Linked DNA regions of Homo sapiens: all the other regions are linked to region 1. Evidence: promoter capture Hi-C in 16 types of primary human blood cells and fetal thymus (Javierre and others, 2016). All regions are on one chromosome and are shown on one strand. The core of a region is centred on a gene start or on the middle of the fragment in contact, and the rest is flanking DNA. Distances in the headings are between cores, read along the strand shown.

Region 1 (2,585 bases), core at 26-2,525:
GGGCAGTTAAGAAGGCATTTTACGAATGAGGAACCCAGTCTTAGGGAGTAAAATGGTGAGTGAGTGGGTGGCAGAATGTGTAATGAGTTCCCAGGTCTCCTAAGACCCAACAGTACTTTTGGCACAAAAGACCTCTTTATAGGAAAAGACAAGAGGTTCTAGCATCTGGAACTCATGAGGCCACACTCCAATCCCATTCTTGCAAAAGAGGTAAAGGAATACTTTATGCAGAAGCCTGCAGGGTGCATGAGGTAGGGAGGGCGAGTTGCTCTTTTTTTTTAATTATTTTTATTTAATTAGATACAGGTTCCACTCTGTCACCTAGGCCGGAGTGCAGTGGCACAGTCATAGCTCACTGCAGCCTCTAAATCCTGGACACGAGCAATCCTATCACCTTGGCCCCCCAAAGCACTGGGATTACAGGTGTGAGCTACTGCCTCTGGCTCTTTATAATTGCCCCCACCTGTGCCCCTGTTGGTCCTAACCAGATTCCCAAGACCCCTCTCTCCCTCCCCCAGCACCACCAAGTTGAGAAGATGTGCACTGGCCTCTGCACCTGGACAGCAGGTGCATTCCAAATTTGCTGAGATTACATACCAGACAGTCATTGCCTGGGCAGGAAAGGATTTCCTTGAGTCAGCAGTAACACTGACATTAGAGCTGTGTACAGGGTACCAGCCACCTGCTCCCCTCTCTTTGACATCCGAGGACTCACCTTGTCCCGGAGCTCTTCAATGGTCTTGAAGTATTGGCTGTAGTCGCATTCTGGGCTGGTTGGGGTCTGCTTCTGGTACCAGTCATGGATCTTCACCTCCAGGTCAGCATTGGCCTCCTCCAGGGCACGTACCTTGTCCAGGTAGGAGGCCAGGCGGTCATTGAGGTTCTGCATGGTAATTTTCTCATTGCCAGAGAGGAGACCACCATCGCCACCACCAAAGCCACCACCAAAACCCCCACCAACGCCCCCTCCAAAGCCTCCACCGAAAACACTACCAGCCCCTCCACCAAAGCCACAGACCCTCATGCCACCCCCATATCCTCCTCCTGACCCTGAAGAGACAAACCTAGCAGAAGAAGCTGAGATACTTCGGCTTCCACCTCCCCCAGAGAGACTCCCCCCACCAAAGCCACCTCCCCCAGCCAGGAGGGAACCCCCTCGGGTTGAGCCACCCCCAAAGGTGGAGGAAGAAGTTTGCAGAAATGTGGTGGTCATGGCCAGGTAGCTGGAGCCCGTGAGTTCTCAGCAAACCCAAGAGATGCTGGCAGGAGGTACCAGGCCAGGCTGCACGCTGGGGCTCCTTATATACCCTTCAGAGGGTGTTGTGGGACCTCGTCTCCTCCCCTAAAGCAAAGCCAACTCCTTCTGCCTTCCTGACAAACACAGCTGCCTGCACACCTTGAGTGGGTCATGTGAAGTTTTTCTCTTCTATTTTTTTTTAATGCAACAAAAGAGATGATTCAGAATTAATAGTGTTTTTCCCCAGGGCACGGTTTTAACACTTGGATTACAGGTTCATCTCTCCATGCCAGAAGAGAGCAGCAGGGAGCGAACTCTCATCACAGCACAGCTACCAAGGCCTCTGCCTGTACTGAGAGCAGCTCAGGCCAACTGTGCCCTCAGCTGGACTTCACTTCCCCGAGCCCTGAGCCTCTCCCCAAGAGGACAGCTCCGTGTTCTTAGTTTGGGAGTCCACTGGCCGATCATTATGCTGTGTTATCCAACTCAAAACCCTGTGAGTGAGTGAGTGAGTGAATGAGTGAGTGAGTGAGTGAGTGAGAGACTGCAGGGCTCAGGGAGAGTGGAGGCCCTGGGGATGGGAATGCAGGGCCCCTGGGGGCAGGTGGAGGACAGGAGCCAGGGACCTTGAGTAGTGTTCCAGCTGAGGTGACCAGAGGAGCCAGCATCCATCCCCTTACCTGGTGCTGCAGATGGACTCCCCTCCTCCCACCTCTACTCCCCTCCTGCCATCCTCCAGCCTGTGTTCCTGGCACCCTCACAAAAGCCCAGCAGGCTTGGGACTGACAAGGGGATGACTGATGATCCCGACACCTGCCAACTGCACGGCGCTGAACCTTTGCTCGTTTCTGGGATGTGTTGGGGCAAACCTCCGCTGATAAGGCTGGGGCAAGTTCCAGGAAGCCCCTGCCTTCTCCAGGAGAGGCATGTCGCTGCTTAGCAGGGCCAGATTAGCCCCCATCTGTCCTGTCAAGTGCTGGCTGGGGACGGGCCGCTGCAGAAGGCTCTATGTGCCTGAATGCTGTGGAAGGGAAGAGAAGGGAGACTGGCAGGCAGGCTGGAAGACACCGGAGATCTTGAAGACCAAGGCATTGCTTCACACAGACGGGGAGTTGAACACTCAGGAGAGCCCTTTTCTCTGCCACCAGCTCAGGGACACCTTTCCAGGGACACCTGATACCTGTGGGCAGTGCCACTTGGAGGTGTGGCTCAGCCCTCTGGACCTGGCCCCAGGGCTTACAGAAACTCAGGAGGAGGATTCCTAGCCCAGGTTGCAGCATGGTGAAGTGGACAGGGCTCTGGAGTCCCTCAGGCCCGGGTTTGAATCCTGGCTTTATCAATTATCATG
Region 2 (2,585 bases), core at 57-2,556, 560 kb before region 1:
TGTAAGTATTTGTTTCACTTTCTCTTTCTTGACCAACCAATAGTCTCGCACCACACTTTCCTACTTAGGAGAGAAAAAATAATAACTTAATGCACACCCAGGCATTAAAAATGCATTACTGGCTGGGCGCAGTGGCTCACGCCTATAATCCCAGCACTTTGGGAGGCCCAGGTGGGTGGATCACAAGGTCAGGAGTTCAAGACCAGCCTGGCCAAGATGGTGAAACCCCGTCTCTACTAAAAATACAAAAAATTAGCTGGGTGTTCTGGTGGGCACCTGTAATCCCAGCTACTTGGGAGGCTAAGGCAGAGAATTGCTTGAACCCGGGAGGTGGAGGTTGCAGTGACCCGAGATCGTGCCACTGCTGTCCAGTCTGGGCGACAGAGTGAGACTCCATCTCAAAAAGAAAAAAAAAAAAAAGCATTACCATGGCACTTCATTCAGTGAGTGTTCGTGTCTTAAAAAAGGAAGGAAGCAATGTTTTACCATATACAATTTATCCACCAGATCAATTCCTTTATATGTAAAATATGAAAGTTGAAACTGATGAGTAAATTTCATTCCTGCTCTATCATTCTGTAAGTCTATGGATAATGATGGGATTTTAGGTTTTAATAGCCTATTATTTGCATGATTATCCCAATTTTTATAGATGAGAAAACTGAGGTTCAAGTGGTTCAATATGTTGTCCAAGGTCACATGACTAGCTGGTGACAAAACCAGTGTGGGGCAAGGTCTTCCCAAAAGCCTTCACATCAGAGCATGTAAGCAATTCTCTACTTCAGAGAGGCATTATCATGAGACAGAATGATACTGGCTTTGGAATCTAAACTCTGGCTCAGACTCTTATTTCTTTTGTGACTTTGGATGAGTTTCTTAATGTCTCAGGATCTCAGTGTCTCTATAAAATAGGTGGGCTGAAACTTACCTTGGATTTGCTTGGGAAAATCACTTTAGCTCTTGGAGCCTCATCTGTAACATTCGTTAATAATTATGCCACCCCCCCTCTTAGGATTGCTTTATAAATCTCATGTGATAGCTTGTAAAAATGCTTTGCATATAATAAAATGCTCTCCCAGTGTTTCCCAAAGTGTACTTCATGAATCATTAATACCATGAGATGTTCTAAAAAAAGTGGGGGGATCCACAGTCAAATAAGTTTTGGAATGCTGAATACCATATACCCCCTTCCTGGAGATTCATGGTGTATATTAGCTTATTAATGGCTCACAGGAAGGCACCCTGTTTAACCTTGGTTTAGTGCAGCGTTTCGTAGACTTATTTGGCCACAAAGCTCTTTTTCAGCCATAGACGCTTTAACAAATGAGGAACTATTGTTCTGAAAGACACAGTTTGGGAAATACTGCAGCACACAGGTGTAAGGGACTGTTTCCATCTTTGCTGAGCTAGGCTTGGTCAGCTTGCTCAGTACCATTCGATGCTGGGCCTGCAGTTCAACCTCCAGAGTGTTCACACTGCGTCTCAGTTCTATGATCTCCTTTTGGCAGCATTGCTGCTGTTGAGAGCTGGTCACCACTTGTTGATTCAGCTCCTCTATCTGAAACACACAGCCAGAGACTGAGAATATTATGGGAGGAAAACATGACTTTGATTAAAGGGCCCTAGAAATGCAGCATCAGCTTATTGTTTTTGACTTTTCTATATCCCCCACCTGCGTGTTGAACCACTGTTCCACATCTTTGCGGTTTGTCTCCATGATGGGCTCATATTGACATCTCATTTCTTGTAGAACCTGGTTTAGGTCAGCAGAAGGGGCAGCAGTCACTTCAATGTCAAGTCTCTCCCCAAGCTGACACTGTAAAGAATTGATTTCCTAAGGAAAGAAAAAGACTGTGAAGTCACTTGGTGAACAGATAACCCCTTTGTGTTCTTGTTTCACTCTAACTGCTACGATTTAGCTTAATTGTGTCTAAAATATAGCCCACAACAAAGGAATACATGATTTACAGGTGTTATTGAGATGCTATAAAATGATTTAAGACTCTTTCAGGTAGGACTGTGTGTTTAAATGTGTGCAAAATTAAAAAAAAATGAGTAGCAAGACCAGAGTTCCAAAAAATTTAGATCATTTCCAGGGCTGGATAATGGGTGAAACAGGATAAAGGTGGAATTGATCATGAGAGATTATAGTCTCTATGGTGCAAATACGGGATTGTGCCAATATTGACTTGCACCAATATTGACTTGTACCAATGGGAGGTGGCAGAAGCCTGTATAGGGATGCCTACAAACATGGGAAGACTGTAAGGACAGAAAAATTGGGTTCCTTCTTGTAGAAAAGCTGGAGGGGATGTTGGAGGCCTTTCTTCCCCTTATGGCTCCAGATATTGTGTTGGAGCCAGTGGATTTGAAATACTACCTTGAACCAGTGCTAGTAGCAGTAGGTATTTTCAGGGCTAAACCAGAGTAGTACGTAGCAGTGGTTTGGCTCTGTGTCCCCACCCAAATCTCATCTCGAATTGTAATTCCCATAATTCCCATGTGTCAAGGGAGGGACCTAGTGGGAGGAGATTGGATCATGGGGGTGGTGTCCCCCATGCTGTTCTTAGGATAGTGAGTGAGTT
Region 3 (2,585 bases), core at 30-2,529, 540 kb before region 1:
AGGCTGGTCTCGAACTCCTGACCTTGTGATCCTCCTGCCTCAGCCTCCCAAAGTGCTTGGATTACAGGTGTGAGCCACCATGCCTGGCCCTGCCTCAAGTAGTTTTATTCCAGCTTAAACAACATCTGCCCAAATTCGATTTACAAACATCAACAGATCATCTGTCAATGTAAGTACGTTACTCTCGGAGTCCTTCAGCGGAGTTGCCACTTTCCTTACCTCTTCATGGTTTTTCTTAAGGCAAAGGAGATCTTCCTTCAGAGACTCCACATGGGCCTCCAGATCAGATTTGCACAGGGTCAGTTCCTCCAGGATCCCATGCAGGCTGCTGATGTCAGCCTCTAACAGCTGGCGAAGGGACAGTTCACTCTCGTACCTTTCACAGCAAAAGAGAAATCCAACGCTTACTTTGCTGAACGCTGTGCAAAGTGTGGGGATACATGGAGGATCGACACACGGACTTCAGGAAGCCATGTGCATAATTTCTCTTAATTCCTAAGTAATGATAAATTCAAGCTTTTAAAACATTCTTAACTTTAAAATATTATATAGAGAATATTTGTGTGTGTGTGTGTGTGTGAGAGAGAGAGATTGAGAGAGAGAGAGCCATAAGTTATTTTCAAATTAAAATTAAAGCCGGGCGTGGTGGCTCATGCCTGTAATCCCAGCACTTTGGGAGGCCAAGGCGGGCAGATCACCTGAGGTCAGGAGTTCGAGACCAACCTGGCCCACATGGTGAAACCCTGTCTCTACTAAAAATACAAAAATTAGCTAGGTGTGGCGGTGCACGCCTGCCTGTAATCCCGGCTACTCAGGAGGCTGAGGCAGGAGAACCACTTGAACCCAGGAGGCAGAGGTTGCAGTGAGCTGAGATAGCACCATTGAGCTCTAGCCTGGGTGACAAGAGTGAAACTCCATCTCAAAATAAATAAATAAAATAAAATTAAATTAAACTTACTTTGACTTAAAGTCATCAGTGGCCAGTTTGCAGTTGTCAAGCTGTACAGCAAGTCTAGAATTCTCTGCTTTCGTGCATAAGATCTGGGAAGCAAGTCATTATGTGATAAATGATTCTTTGAGAGAAACCTAAGTAAACTTCTATCCAACAGCTATGCCATTAGCTATCTTTTGAAAGTCTTTATAAGAAAGTATAAAATCACCCTCAGCCTGCTTTTTTTTATTAACCTTGTCACTTCATGAAGAAAAAAAGCAGAGCCAATTTAGAAACAAAATAATGAAATAAAAAGGTTTAGTTTTTTAATAACATAAGACATTTTGCAACATTCTCAGGCAGTTGAACACCATTAATGTTTTCTCCATCAGTAGTTTGTATTATGAGTATATCCTCTCCCATAATAATAGAAATTCATGGAGAGAAGAAAATGATTACTAGGTAGTTAAAAAGATGGCATTTCATGATCTGTGTTCAGATAATGTAAATGTTCAGTGTCACGTACAAAAGCGATTTTGGATATAATACAGTTTTTCTGCATTCTATAGATGATGAAGGAAAAGTCTACAGGCAAGTTACTTTATTATAGTCACTCAGTAATCAGGGGTAGCTCTGGGGCTGATGCTGAGGTTTTCTGACTTTCAGTCCGGTGCTCTCCCCTATGTATCACTAACTCTTAGAATTTTCCTTTCCCTTGGTTTCCTTCTGTAAAACAGCCCCTTCTAGTAGAAAGATAAAGCAAACCATAGATCAGGAAGGTGGAGCACTAGGGCAACAGGACACAGACCTTTTGTTGGAGATCTTCAATGGTGTTGAAGTAACGCTGATAATCCGGGCACACCATTGGGATATCCTGTTCACATTGTTCTTGGATCCTGGATTCCAGCTCTGCGTTGGTCTCCTCCAGGCTGCGCACCTTCTCCAGATAGCTGGCGAGTCTGTCATTCAGGAACTGCATCGTCTCCTTCTCATTGCTAGTGAACACCCCATCCTCACACCAGGCACAGTTCCCCACCAAGCAGGGACTATTACAACTCCCAGTAAAGTAGCATGGCAGGAGGCAACCAGTCAGCCCGCGAGACCTGGATAGGAAGCTTGGAGTCTGACATCGGGATGTAGCACAGGTACCGGGGAGACAAGCTGTTTCCACGGAGCAGCTTGAGGCAGGTGCACAACCGGAAGCCGTGCCACAGGACTCAGGAGAGCAGTGTGTGGAGGAGCAGTCAGAAGTCATCCTTCCAGAAGCAAAGACAGAGACTGGCTGCAAAACTTCAGTTGCCTTGACTCCAAAACTCTCCTCTCCTGAGAGTTTTATAACCCCCCAAAATGGGTGTTTACAGACTGCACCGGATGTTTTCTTTATCACTGATGGTGCCAGTTTTCGTACAAACATCTCATTAGAGTTGTTTATTTACTGAGGAAGAGTTTTATGCCTCATAAAATAGGGATAACTTTAGGTTACCAAAGCAGGACCCACACCATTTCCATGTGCAAGACAAAACACTTATTTCAGAAAATCGTCATAGGAAGCATTGTGCTTTTGACAGAATAATAAAAGAAAGAGAAAATTTGGCCAATGAATAATTATAGATACAACTCATTACAAATCAGGAAAATAATATGTCCACAGATT
Region 4 (2,585 bases), core at 63-2,562, 510 kb before region 1:
CTGTCCATCAGAATGTTGGACGGAACATCCTTGTTGCTGTTTACCTAATTCTGTAAAAATAACTCACTAACTTCTTATGTATCAGACAGGGGATGAGCTCTCCTTCAGTTTTATTTAGTTGTGTTGCTGCATTCAAACTTGCTTTCTGTTGTAGTTTCAAAATGGTGTCAGTGTAGTTTTCCACTTACTCACATGTAGACACATCCATACTGTATTAGTCTGTTCTCATGCTGCTATAGGGACATACCCGAGATTGGGTAATTTATAAAGGAAAGAAGTTTAATGGACTCACAGTAGACCCACCTCAGCCTCCCAAAGTGCTGGGATTACAGGCACGAGTCGCTGTGCCTGGCCTCAATAACAATTTGAAGGAAAAATGAAATATCTTGTTTTTTATTATATTATCAAGGATAAACAATTATTAATGTTAAGGGCAGTTGTTTTACCTTGATTATTGATGCTGAAGTTGAACTGAAAATGTGTTTGAGTTGCCAAACATTCTGCATTTCAATTCAAAGTTAATGATGCAGCCAATATTTCTTCTCTGCTGACACTGCTAATCAGTAAAGTCTGACTTTTTAAAAAAGGTTTGTTCTTAACTTAGAAACACGGATACCTTTTTTAATACTCATTGTATACACTCATTTTATTTTAGACTATAATCACCACAGAGAAAACAGAGAAAACAACAAAAGATACAATTGACAGGGATAGTAGAGAATATATTGTCAAGTGTCATATACTTTCTCCTGAATAAAGAGAGCCACCTATAGTCACATTTCTCTTTGACATATTGCTGTCTGTGGGGAAGGTGAGTGCTTTGGTGTAGTGGAAAGAGAAGGGACTTCGGACTTAGTTTGGGGTTTAAGTCCTTCTCTCTCACTTATGATTTATGTAACTTTTGCAAGTAATTTAGTCTTTCTCAGCCTGAGTTTCTGCACCTGTTAGTGGCCTTTCTTCACCTGTTAGTGATGCAGGGCAGGGGAGCCCCAAAGTGGGGCTTAGCCTGCAAGGGTTCTTGGCTTTGCCTAGGGAAGAATTCAAGGGCAAGCCAGAGGTAGAAAACAGCTTTATTGAAGCAGCAGTGTTACAGCTCTGTGATTGCTCCTGCAGAACAGGGCTACCTCTGTAGGCAGAGAGTAGCAGCTCAGGGCAGTTTTGCATATTTCTACCTACTTTTAATTAGATGTAGATTAAAGAGTGGTTTGTGCAGAAATTTCTAAGAAGGAGTAGTAAGTTTTAGGTCATTGGGTCATTGCCATGGAAAGGGGTGGTAACTCAGGTGTTGCCATGGCAATGGTAAATTGACACAGCATGCTGGTGGGCATGTCTGATTGGAAAGCTGTTTCTGTCCCCATCCTGTTTTAGCTAGCCCTCAATTTGGTCCAGTATCTGAGCCCCGCTTCTGGAGTAGAGTCCCACCTTCTACCTCATTAGTATGTCCAGTAGATACTCACTCAGTGTGAGCTATTCCTAATGAAAGCAGTAAAAGTAATGAGGTAGAATGGGCTTGGTTAGTTGCATGGGGTACTTGTTACTTAGAATGCTTCTGGATGATCTAGAATCATAGAATGTTAAAACGAAAAGCAACCTTAGAGATGGTGTGATCAACCAACCCATTTTACTGCTTTAACACCTGAGACCCCAAGAACTTAATTGACTTGCTTAGGGCCACAGAGGCAGCTCAAGGCAGAGCCAGGACTAAAACAACACATCTTCTGGTTTCCAGTTGGGGATTTATAACTAGGCCAGGGCCCGTGAATGCTAAAGACCATGGTAGTAGTAATAGGAACTTCGAGTTATTTTAGGTATTAAAAACAAACTCTAATTTTTATCCCTTACTAGCATGTATGAAAACATGAAAATTCTTTGTTTTTGACTAGAAAAAAGGTAACTTGGCATGGTAACAAAGGTTATTCTATAGTAATCCTAAACATTTAATTGATATTTATAAATGTATTTATGAACACAAATGAAGGAATTAATAAACATTTTTAAGAAAGCCATTTGGGAAAAATACATATTTCAAGAAATAAAAAGATGCCCAACCTACGTATCCATCATCCAATGAGTGGATAGAGAAACTGTGGTATGTATACACCATGGAATACTACTCAGCTGTTAAAGGGAATGAAACAATGTCTTTTGTGGCAACTTGGATGGAGCTGGAGGCCATTATTCTGAGTGAAATGGAGTGGGAAATTACAGGAATGGAAAACAAAAAACCATGTTTTCACTTATAAGTGGGAGCTAAACTAAGTATGCAGATGCATATGGAGTGATATAATGGACTTTAGAGACTCAAAAAGTGGAGGGTGGGAGGGAGGCCAGGGATAAAACACTACACATTAGCTACCATGTATACTCCTTGGGTACGGGTGCACTAAAATCTCAGAATTCACCACCACTATATAATTCATCCATGTAACCAAAAACCACCTGTAACCCAAAAGCTACGGAAATAAATAAATAAATAAATAAATAAATATTTTTAAAAGATGTCTTTTGGTGAGAAAGTTGGGAACTTCCATATGGCAGTAATGGTGAGAGTCTCTCATGTGTAACAGGTTGATGCTGTGGACACG

What was found. Contacts are between HindIII fragments. The CHiCAGO score rates a contact against its expected background, and 5 or more counts as called.
Region 2: a contact is called between a fragment that was not itself captured here and the fragment with the promoter of KRT15 in region 1, in 3 of 17 cell types (naive CD4 T cells, total CD8 T cells and naive CD8 T cells). The highest score is 7.3, in naive CD4 T cells.
Region 3: a fragment that was not itself captured here is called in contact with the fragment with the promoter of KRT15 in region 1 in 2 of 17 cell types (naive CD4 T cells and non-activated CD4 T cells); the score reaches 5.1 in naive CD4 T cells.
Region 4: a fragment that was not itself captured here is called in contact with the fragment with the promoter of KRT15 in region 1 in 2 of 17 cell types (naive CD4 T cells and total CD4 T cells); the score reaches 5.4 in naive CD4 T cells.

What each region holds. Positions count from the first base shown.
Region 1 is chr17:41,517,615-41,520,199 of GRCh38, forward strand. It overlaps KRT15 (keratin 15), which reads right to left and starts at 1,276. Exons shown (of 8, transcript NM_002275.4): 1 at 716-1,276. The coding sequence starts at 1,213. RefSeq lists an enhancer at 1,616-2,585. The HindIII fragment of the contact is 23,808 bases long and covers 1-2,585 here.
Region 2 is chr17:40,960,730-40,963,314 of GRCh38, forward strand. KRT39 (keratin 39) reads right to left here. Exons shown (of 7, transcript NM_213656.4): 4 at 1,673-1,834; 5 at 1,433-1,558. All of the region lies in intron 1 of LOC107985072 (a long non-coding RNA gene), which reads left to right. Among named protein-coding and RNA genes, the nearest start is that of KRT39, 4.9 kb to the right of the region's middle. The HindIII fragment of the contact is 5,264 bases long and covers 1-2,585 here.
Region 3 is chr17:40,982,088-40,984,672 of GRCh38, forward strand. It overlaps KRT40 (keratin 40), which reads right to left and starts at 2,239. Exons shown (of 7, transcript NM_001389244.1): 1 at 1,740-2,239; 2 at 959-1,041; 3 at 220-376. The coding sequence starts at 2,186. LOC107985072 (a long non-coding RNA gene) reads left to right here. Exons shown (of 4, transcript XR_001752886.2): 4 at 241-1,770. The HindIII fragment of the contact is 1,530 bases long and covers 515-2,044 here.
Region 4 is chr17:41,004,866-41,007,450 of GRCh38, forward strand. No RefSeq gene overlaps it. Among named protein-coding and RNA genes, the nearest start is that of KRTAP3-1, 3.0 kb to the right of the region's middle. The HindIII fragment of the contact is 4,275 bases long and covers 1-2,585 here.